Regions from separate parts of the Homo sapiens genome. Here region 1 is linked to region 2. The links are contacts of gene promoters, found by promoter capture Hi-C in human tissues and cell types (Jung and others, 2019). All regions are on one chromosome and are shown on one strand. The core of a region is centred on a gene start or on the middle of the fragment in contact, and the rest is flanking DNA. Distances in the headings are between cores, read along the strand shown.

Region 1 (3,270 bases), core at 22-2,521, 46 kb before region 2:
ACTTCTCGAATTTTTCCCTATGATTAGATTTAGGCTAGATATTTTTGGCAAGAACTCTACACAGATAATGTGTTCTTCTCATGTAGGAGACACAAAATGTCATTTTTTCCCCATTACTGGTGGTATTAATTTGTTTACATAATTAAGTTGATGTCTGCCAGATTTTATTTCCATTAGGTATCTTTTTCTCTTTGTTATTAAAAAGCGACCTGTGGGGTGATACTCTGAGACTGATTTAGCACCCATTGATAATCCTAACCTGCATCAATCATCACATTGGTGGTTTCGAAGTAAACCGTGTCTTAAACTTTAATTTCTCTAGTGAAAGTTATTTCTAATATTCTTTATGCCAATCAGCTAGCCCTAAGAGGCTGAATAAAATTAACTTTCACACACACCACACTACTCATCCTGATGTAGTTCCTAGTAAATCACTATGAATAACATTTAACACCTATTTGACCTATTTACTGGGTGATCTGAAAAGCCACCAGGTTTGATGAGAGCTGGGCCAGGGGAAAGCATCTCCAGGGGGTAAAAGCTTTTAAGTTGATTGGCTCTGCAGCTAGGCTCTTAAGACCCAGCAAATTTTGTAAGCTGCATGGGACAAATTGGCTTGCTAGGATTTTGGAGGAAAGTCACCTCTTTCAGCAAAGAACTTTTTTCTTTTTTTTAAAAAAAAAAAAAAAAAAGGAAATAACCCCTGACTTGCAATTGGGCTGTACTCTGGTCTGAATATTTGTGTCTCCTGCAAATCCACATGCTGAAATCCTAACCCCCAAGGTGGTGGTATTAGAAGGTGGGGCCTTTTAGAGGTAGTTAGGTCACAAGGGTGAAGTCCTCATGAGTGAGATTAATGCCCTTATAATAAAAGAGACCCCAGAGAGCTGCCTTGTCCCTTCCACCATGTGAGGACACAGCAAGAAGCTGGCAGTCTGCAATCCAGGGGCAGGCCCTCACCAGAACCTGACCGTGCTGGCACCTGATCTTGAACTTCCCAATCTCCAGAATTGGAAGAAATAAATTTCTGTTGTTATGAGCCCCTCAGTCTCAGGTATTTGGTTTTTATAGCAGCCCAAATAGACAAAGACACGCTCTGATGGTTAAGGGTTTGGAAGAAGCAAGACTGGGAAATGGCTGAGGAGGCCTGTGAAGGTGTCTGTGAACTGACCTCTCAGGTAAATGTGAAGTGAGGAGCTATTTGTGGCCCACATGAATGCTTGCCACAAGGCCTTGATACAGAGGGGGCCTTTGTGACTACGTAAGTAGGATGGATGGCCCACTCTGTGAGATGTTAGACTCCTTTCCCAGATATCCCAATGCTCACAAAAATTGGGGTATCCCAGATACCTCAGTGCTCACAAAGTGAGTGTGGTGGCAGGAAGGGAGGCTGTGCCTGTACTCAACAACCCTTTTCCTCTCACCAAGTCTGACCTGCTGTGGTGGAGTGCAGGGACTGTTGGCAGCAGTGGCCAAGTGGCCCTGAGCTCTTGGAATGCTGTGATAACTGGAGGGTGGGGGGAAGGGCAGCCAGCTCCCCAGAGGTAGATTAGCTGTATTGGATTCTTTCCACGATGGAGGAAGTAATGCTTTGTTTCCAAATACTCTGGGTTTGGGTTGGCTTTTGTTGCTTGCCTTAGCTCTGCCAGCACCACCATCCATATGCGAGTGGTTCTCAACCAGGGAAAATCTGGCTTTCAGGGAACACTTGACAATGTCTAGAGACATTCTGATTGTCATATCTTGGGAGGGGGATGCGGCTACTGGCATCTGGTTGGTAGATGTCAGGAATGCAGCCAAACATCTTACAGTGCCTAGGACAGCTCCACAACAAAGAATTATCTGGTTCAAAATGTCAAGAGTGTTGAGGTTGAGAAACCATTTTATTCCATCAAGGTGTCTTCCAGATATCTTAACTATAAAGGAACTTACCTGTAGTTAAAGAAAGAAAGGCAGCTGCGTGCAGTGGCTCACACCTGTATTCCCAGCACTTTGGGAGGCTGAGGCAGGTGGATCGCTTAAGGTAAGGAGCTCAAGACCAGCCCGGCGAACATGGTGAAACCCCATCTCTACTAATAATACAAAAATTAGCTGGGCATGGTGGTGGGTGCCTGTAATCCCAGCTACTCAGGAGGCTGAGGCAGGTGGATTGCTTGAACCTGGGAGGCCGAGGTTGCAGTGAGCTGAGATCGTGCAACTGCTCTCCAGCCTGAGTGACAAAGAGCAAGACTCCGTCCCCCCGACCCCCCACCCACCAACAAAAAAGGCAGTAGTATGTTTAGTAATTGTGTCCAGTTGCAAGTAACTGAAAATATGACTAAATGAGATTTTATTTTTCTCAAGTAAGTTCCCATCTTTGGTTCAGGTGCTTTGAAATGTCAAAGCTGAGGCTGATTGTGATTCTATTTGCTTTCCTTCTTACTGCAAGATGGTCCACTAGAATGTACACACAACAAGGGCAAGGATATTTGCTTACTGCTATATCGCCATAGCTTGGAAGAATGGCAGGTACTCATTAACTGACCATTTGCTGAGTGGAGCGCCAGGCAGCAGAAAAAGAAGAATATGCAAAAGAAGAGATAAGTTTCATGTTAGGAAAATAAAACAGTCCTAGAAAATCCACAGGCAACTTTCACTTGGGCTTCGCTGGCCAGATCTCAGGGACACCTGTAAGGGAGGCTGGAACATATAATTTTCAGCTTGGAATATTGCTGCCAGATACTCAAAAATATTGCTTTTCTGTAAGTAAGGAAGAAGTGGGGATGGATATCTAGTAGCAATAAAGACAATTTTTGATAGGTCTTGGACATGGGCTTGCAGACTTATCTCTAGGCAAGACCTTGAGCATGGAGAATGTGAGAGATTGCAAGATCAGGACCATAGAAATGAAAACTAGAGCAACTGCTTCTCAGAAGACTCATCAGAATCAGCAGAGAAACAGCCTGGTGGTAAACTTGTGACTGCTTCATGTCTGTGACTCAGACAGATGCCTTATTTGCATTCAATCTAATGAATCTGATGTTGACCACACAGTTTGAAAAAAACAAAAATAGACATAAAAGTTCAACAAATGACTTGAGCTGAGATTTATTACAGGTCAGTCTGAAACTAAGAAGATAGTACATTGTTTAAATCAGACAGCCTCACCTTCTTGGGAACTTTATGGCTTTTGCATTTACAAATCTTGCTCTTGTCTTTAGTTGGCGAGAGTGTCTACACAGGGTTCCTGGGCTTTATGTACACTCAGGATTAACTCTGATCCTAACCATG
Region 2 (3,696 bases), core at 927-3,426:
GAGAAACTGTGCTCCTTGAATTTGGGGTCTCTGTTCTTCAGTGGGATTCAATAACCTGTCCTGGCCACCAGTTCCAAGGTTCTGGGCATGCTTGGCCTTGGTGTTTCACCCAGAGAAGACACTAGGAAACTAGAGAAGCAGTGGGAGGCAGGTACGTGGCTCCTCTAGAGGCCTATATCCAAAGAGCATGCAAGGCGTGGTGTATGGAAGGAATGTTATCAATCAAATGGATACCAAATCTAGAGGTATGATTCCTGACTTTGGTATAGCCCAATCTTTTCTTCAGAGTTTTCCCAGTTTGTAATCTCATTTTTTGTTGTTCAAAACCTCTTTTTTTTTTTTAAAAAAAATTATTTATTTTATTTATTTTTGAGTCAGAGTCTCATTCTGTCACCCAGGCTGGAGTGCAGTGGTGTGATATCGGCTCACTGCAACCTCCACCTCCTGGGTTCAAGCAATTCTGCCTCAGCCTCCTGAGTAGCTGGGATTACCATGTGTATGCCATCATGCCTGGCTAGTTTTGGTATTTTTAGTAGAGACAGGGTTTCACCATGTTGGCCAGGCTGGTCTCGAACTCCTGACCTCAAGTGATCCACCCACCTCGGCCTCCCAAAGTGCTGGGGTTACAGGTATGAGCCACCACACCCGGCCCAAAAGCTCTTTTACAGAGTCATTGTGGTTTTAAATATCAATTCAGTTTTCAAGTGAGAAAATGGAGGCACACAGAATTCAACTGATTTGCTTAAGCTCTTATAGAGTAGGGGTGCCGAGGGACTTTGTGGGGTTTTAGTTCTCCTTCATCTCCATCTGCCTCCTCAAGCCACCTCAAACCTACAATCTAAACAAAATCAATTTGCTTTTGTTATTCCAGGGCAGCTTCATGACCATTCCCAGAGTCCCACCAGATGGCCATTCCCATGCTGTCCCTTTATTGAAATTCTGTGGTCATCGCATAGTCCATAAGCAATAGAAGCAAAAGAGTAAGCAGGTTTTACCAGAGTGTACCTTTAAAGTTTCAAAGAACCCGCACATCCACTATCTCATCAATTCACAGAATGTTCTGAGAGACAACAAGAATAGATATTATTGCTGCCTAGAGATTAAGAGCTAGAAGCTCAGAAAGCTTGATTCTCACCTTGGTTCCTGTCTGCTATAGTGGACTCTCTGGCTTGGTTTGGGTCTGGGGTCTCTGTCACATATATGGCTGGAGAAGCCTCCCACTTATTTTCTTATACCTCAGTTTCCCATTTGTTCCCATCATAGGCAGACTATATGTCAGTAGCTTTGAGGAACAGATTGTATCTGCTCAGTATTGAAGTCCTGGAATAATGAGAGAAGCGCCCAGTTAATTGATCAGATTTTATTTTAGGAATATCACCCTCCCTGGGGAGGTGGTATGATGGAAAGATGGTGGGCTCTGGAGTCAGACTGGGCTGGATTCTCATCTGGACTCTGTCACTTACTAGCTGGTTGAAGCAGGGATTTTGAGAGCCCCACATACTAGGTCCTTTCCTCTTCCCAGCTACCTGGCAACTAAGCAAACCTAGGGCTTGGTGGAACAGAGTTTGAAAACAGCTGATAGAGTACAGCTTTCCGGGAAATTTAGAATTAAATTCTGTAGCTAAGAAAAAGAAATTATATGTAGAAATCAATTCAATTTGCCTCCCACCCAAGGCCATGAGAGCAGGCTGCTCCAGATATACAAGACATCATTCCTGCAGGCATTGTCAGTCTTGTAGTCCGTTGACAGTAATTGCATGGACAACACCCAAATTGATTGACTTTTCTGTAAGTATTGTTGAACTTCCTTTTCCTTAAATTTCCTTAAAAACAGGTAGCTAGAAATGGAAAGGAAACTAAGTACGCTGCCAACGTACAATCAGGAGCATGCAGCCACCCTTTTATTACATCAGTATATATTTATTGCATGTAGACTACATGTCAGTGACTTTGGCATTAGCAACACAGTAATGAACAAACAAACAAAGGCACTATCTTCAAGGAGCTTCCTTTTGTGTGTGTGTGTGTGTGTGTGTGCGTGATGTTATAGACAAACAAATAAATATCTACCAGATGGCAATGAAGCTGTGACCCAAAAAATCAAACTGAGAAGAGGGTCAGAGAGTGAAAGGAACTGCGTTTTCAGATAGGTGGTCAGAAAGGGCCTCTCTGTTAAGGTGGCCCTTGTGCAGGGAATTGAAGAAGTGCAGGAGGATGCCACACAGAGATGGTAGAGGGAGCGAAAGGAGCAAAGGCCCTAACTTTCCCTTAATGATGTCTCCTTCCATCTTTAGTCCAGCCCAGCAATGTACATGTTATCCTTCCCGTTTGAAGATGAAGACACTGAGGCTCAGAAAGATCAAACGCCTTTCCCAAACTCACAGCTACGGCCTGACGGAGGTAGGGTCAAATGCAGCTCCACTGATTTCAGAGACGGTGCTGTTAACACAGGGGGCTGTCTGCATGTTGGAAAGTGAGATGTGCTGTTGCTGTCACGTTGCAGTGGGAGTGGGGAAGCAGGCTGTGATGAGCTAGACCCAAGAGGAATCAGAGAGCAGGTCTCCGGGCTTCATCCTGGGCATCTCCTAGCCCCGCTGTCTGTCTCATAACACCCACCCACTGCGCCTGCTCACCTCGGTTTGTTGGCTGTTTTTTTTTGAAATCATTTCCTGGATCTTAGTAAGTTTATTTTCCAGTTCCTTTCACTTTTTGGGACTAGGCCCCCAGATGCCAGGTGGAGAGAACTGAAAGAGGGAGAAATCCAGCGTTTCTCACCAGGCTTGTCACGTAGCTACACAAGCAAATAGCTACAGGAACCAAGTTTCAATTTTCGTGCATGGGCCTCAAACTGTTTTTCCATATTTGTTAGGGAAAATCTTGGCCAGGGAGCACCGTCTTTTGAGGACACCAAATTGGGCCAAGTTCCTGTGCGGCCTTTCTCCTTATTTAGTGATTGCCCCGTGTGACCCTCTCCTCTCTGGCTGACCTCTTTTTTCCTGCATGGCACTTGGTGGATAAAGTTCCCTGAACCTTGGAGAGGAAGCGGATGCTGTTAATAGCCCTGGGAGTGTGACTGTGCTTTGCAGCTCACTGGAGCCTGTGGGATATTCCTCCAGCCTTGGCGGGGCTCCGAGCTGCAGGGAAATTAACCTCAGAGTCAGGGCAGGGAGCCAGGGTTGCAGGCACGTTGTCATTGGGTGAAATGAGATGGCAGAGGAAAATGGCACGGTGTGGAGGCTTTTTTTGTCAGAAGCTCTGGGGTTTGGCTCTTCTCTGTGCCATGTAGTTCTTTGATCTTGCCCAAGTTTACTTACTGTCTCTCTGAGCCTTCAGTGATTTCAATTGCGTGAAAACCAAGACAAATAACACCTCTATATCAAGAATAGTTCATAGGATCATAGTACAATATTGTGGGGATTAAGCCAGATGGTATCAGCCCATCAGAATCTAGCCCATGGGAGGGGCTCCGTAAATGACCCTTTCTTTTTGAGACGGAGTCTTGCCCTGTCGCCAGGCTGGAGTGCAGTGGCGCGATCTCAGCTCACTGCAACCTCCGCCTCCCGGGTTCAAGAGATTCTCCTGCCTCAGCCTCCTGAGTAGCTGGGGTGCCCGCCGTGCTACTATAGGGTGTGTCCTACAGGCGCACGCCACCATGACCAGCTACTTTTTGTATTTTTGGTAGAGACGGGGTTTCAC

Evidence for each region. Contacts are between HindIII fragments. The study calls those that stand out against the background at their distance.
Region 1: a contact is called between a fragment that was not itself captured here and the fragment with the promoter of OR9Q1 in region 2, in 1 of the 25 tissues and cell types used here (neural progenitor cells).

What each region holds. Positions count from the first base shown.
Region 1 is chr11:57,976,428-57,979,697 of GRCh38, forward strand. No RefSeq gene overlaps it. Among named protein-coding and RNA genes, the nearest start is that of OR9Q1, 46 kb to the right of the region's middle. RefSeq lists a silencer at 2,350-2,644. The HindIII fragment of the contact is 3,369 bases long and covers 1-2,956 here.
Region 2 is chr11:58,021,705-58,025,400 of GRCh38, forward strand. OR9Q1 (olfactory receptor family 9 subfamily Q member 1) reads left to right here and starts at 2,177. Exons shown (of 3, transcript NM_001005212.4): 1 at 2,177-2,400. It overlaps LOC107984331 (a long non-coding RNA gene), which reads right to left and starts at 2,715. Exons shown (of 3, transcript XR_001748218.1): 1 at 2,383-2,715; 2 at 1,136-1,320. The HindIII fragment of the contact is 7,062 bases long and covers 1-3,696 here.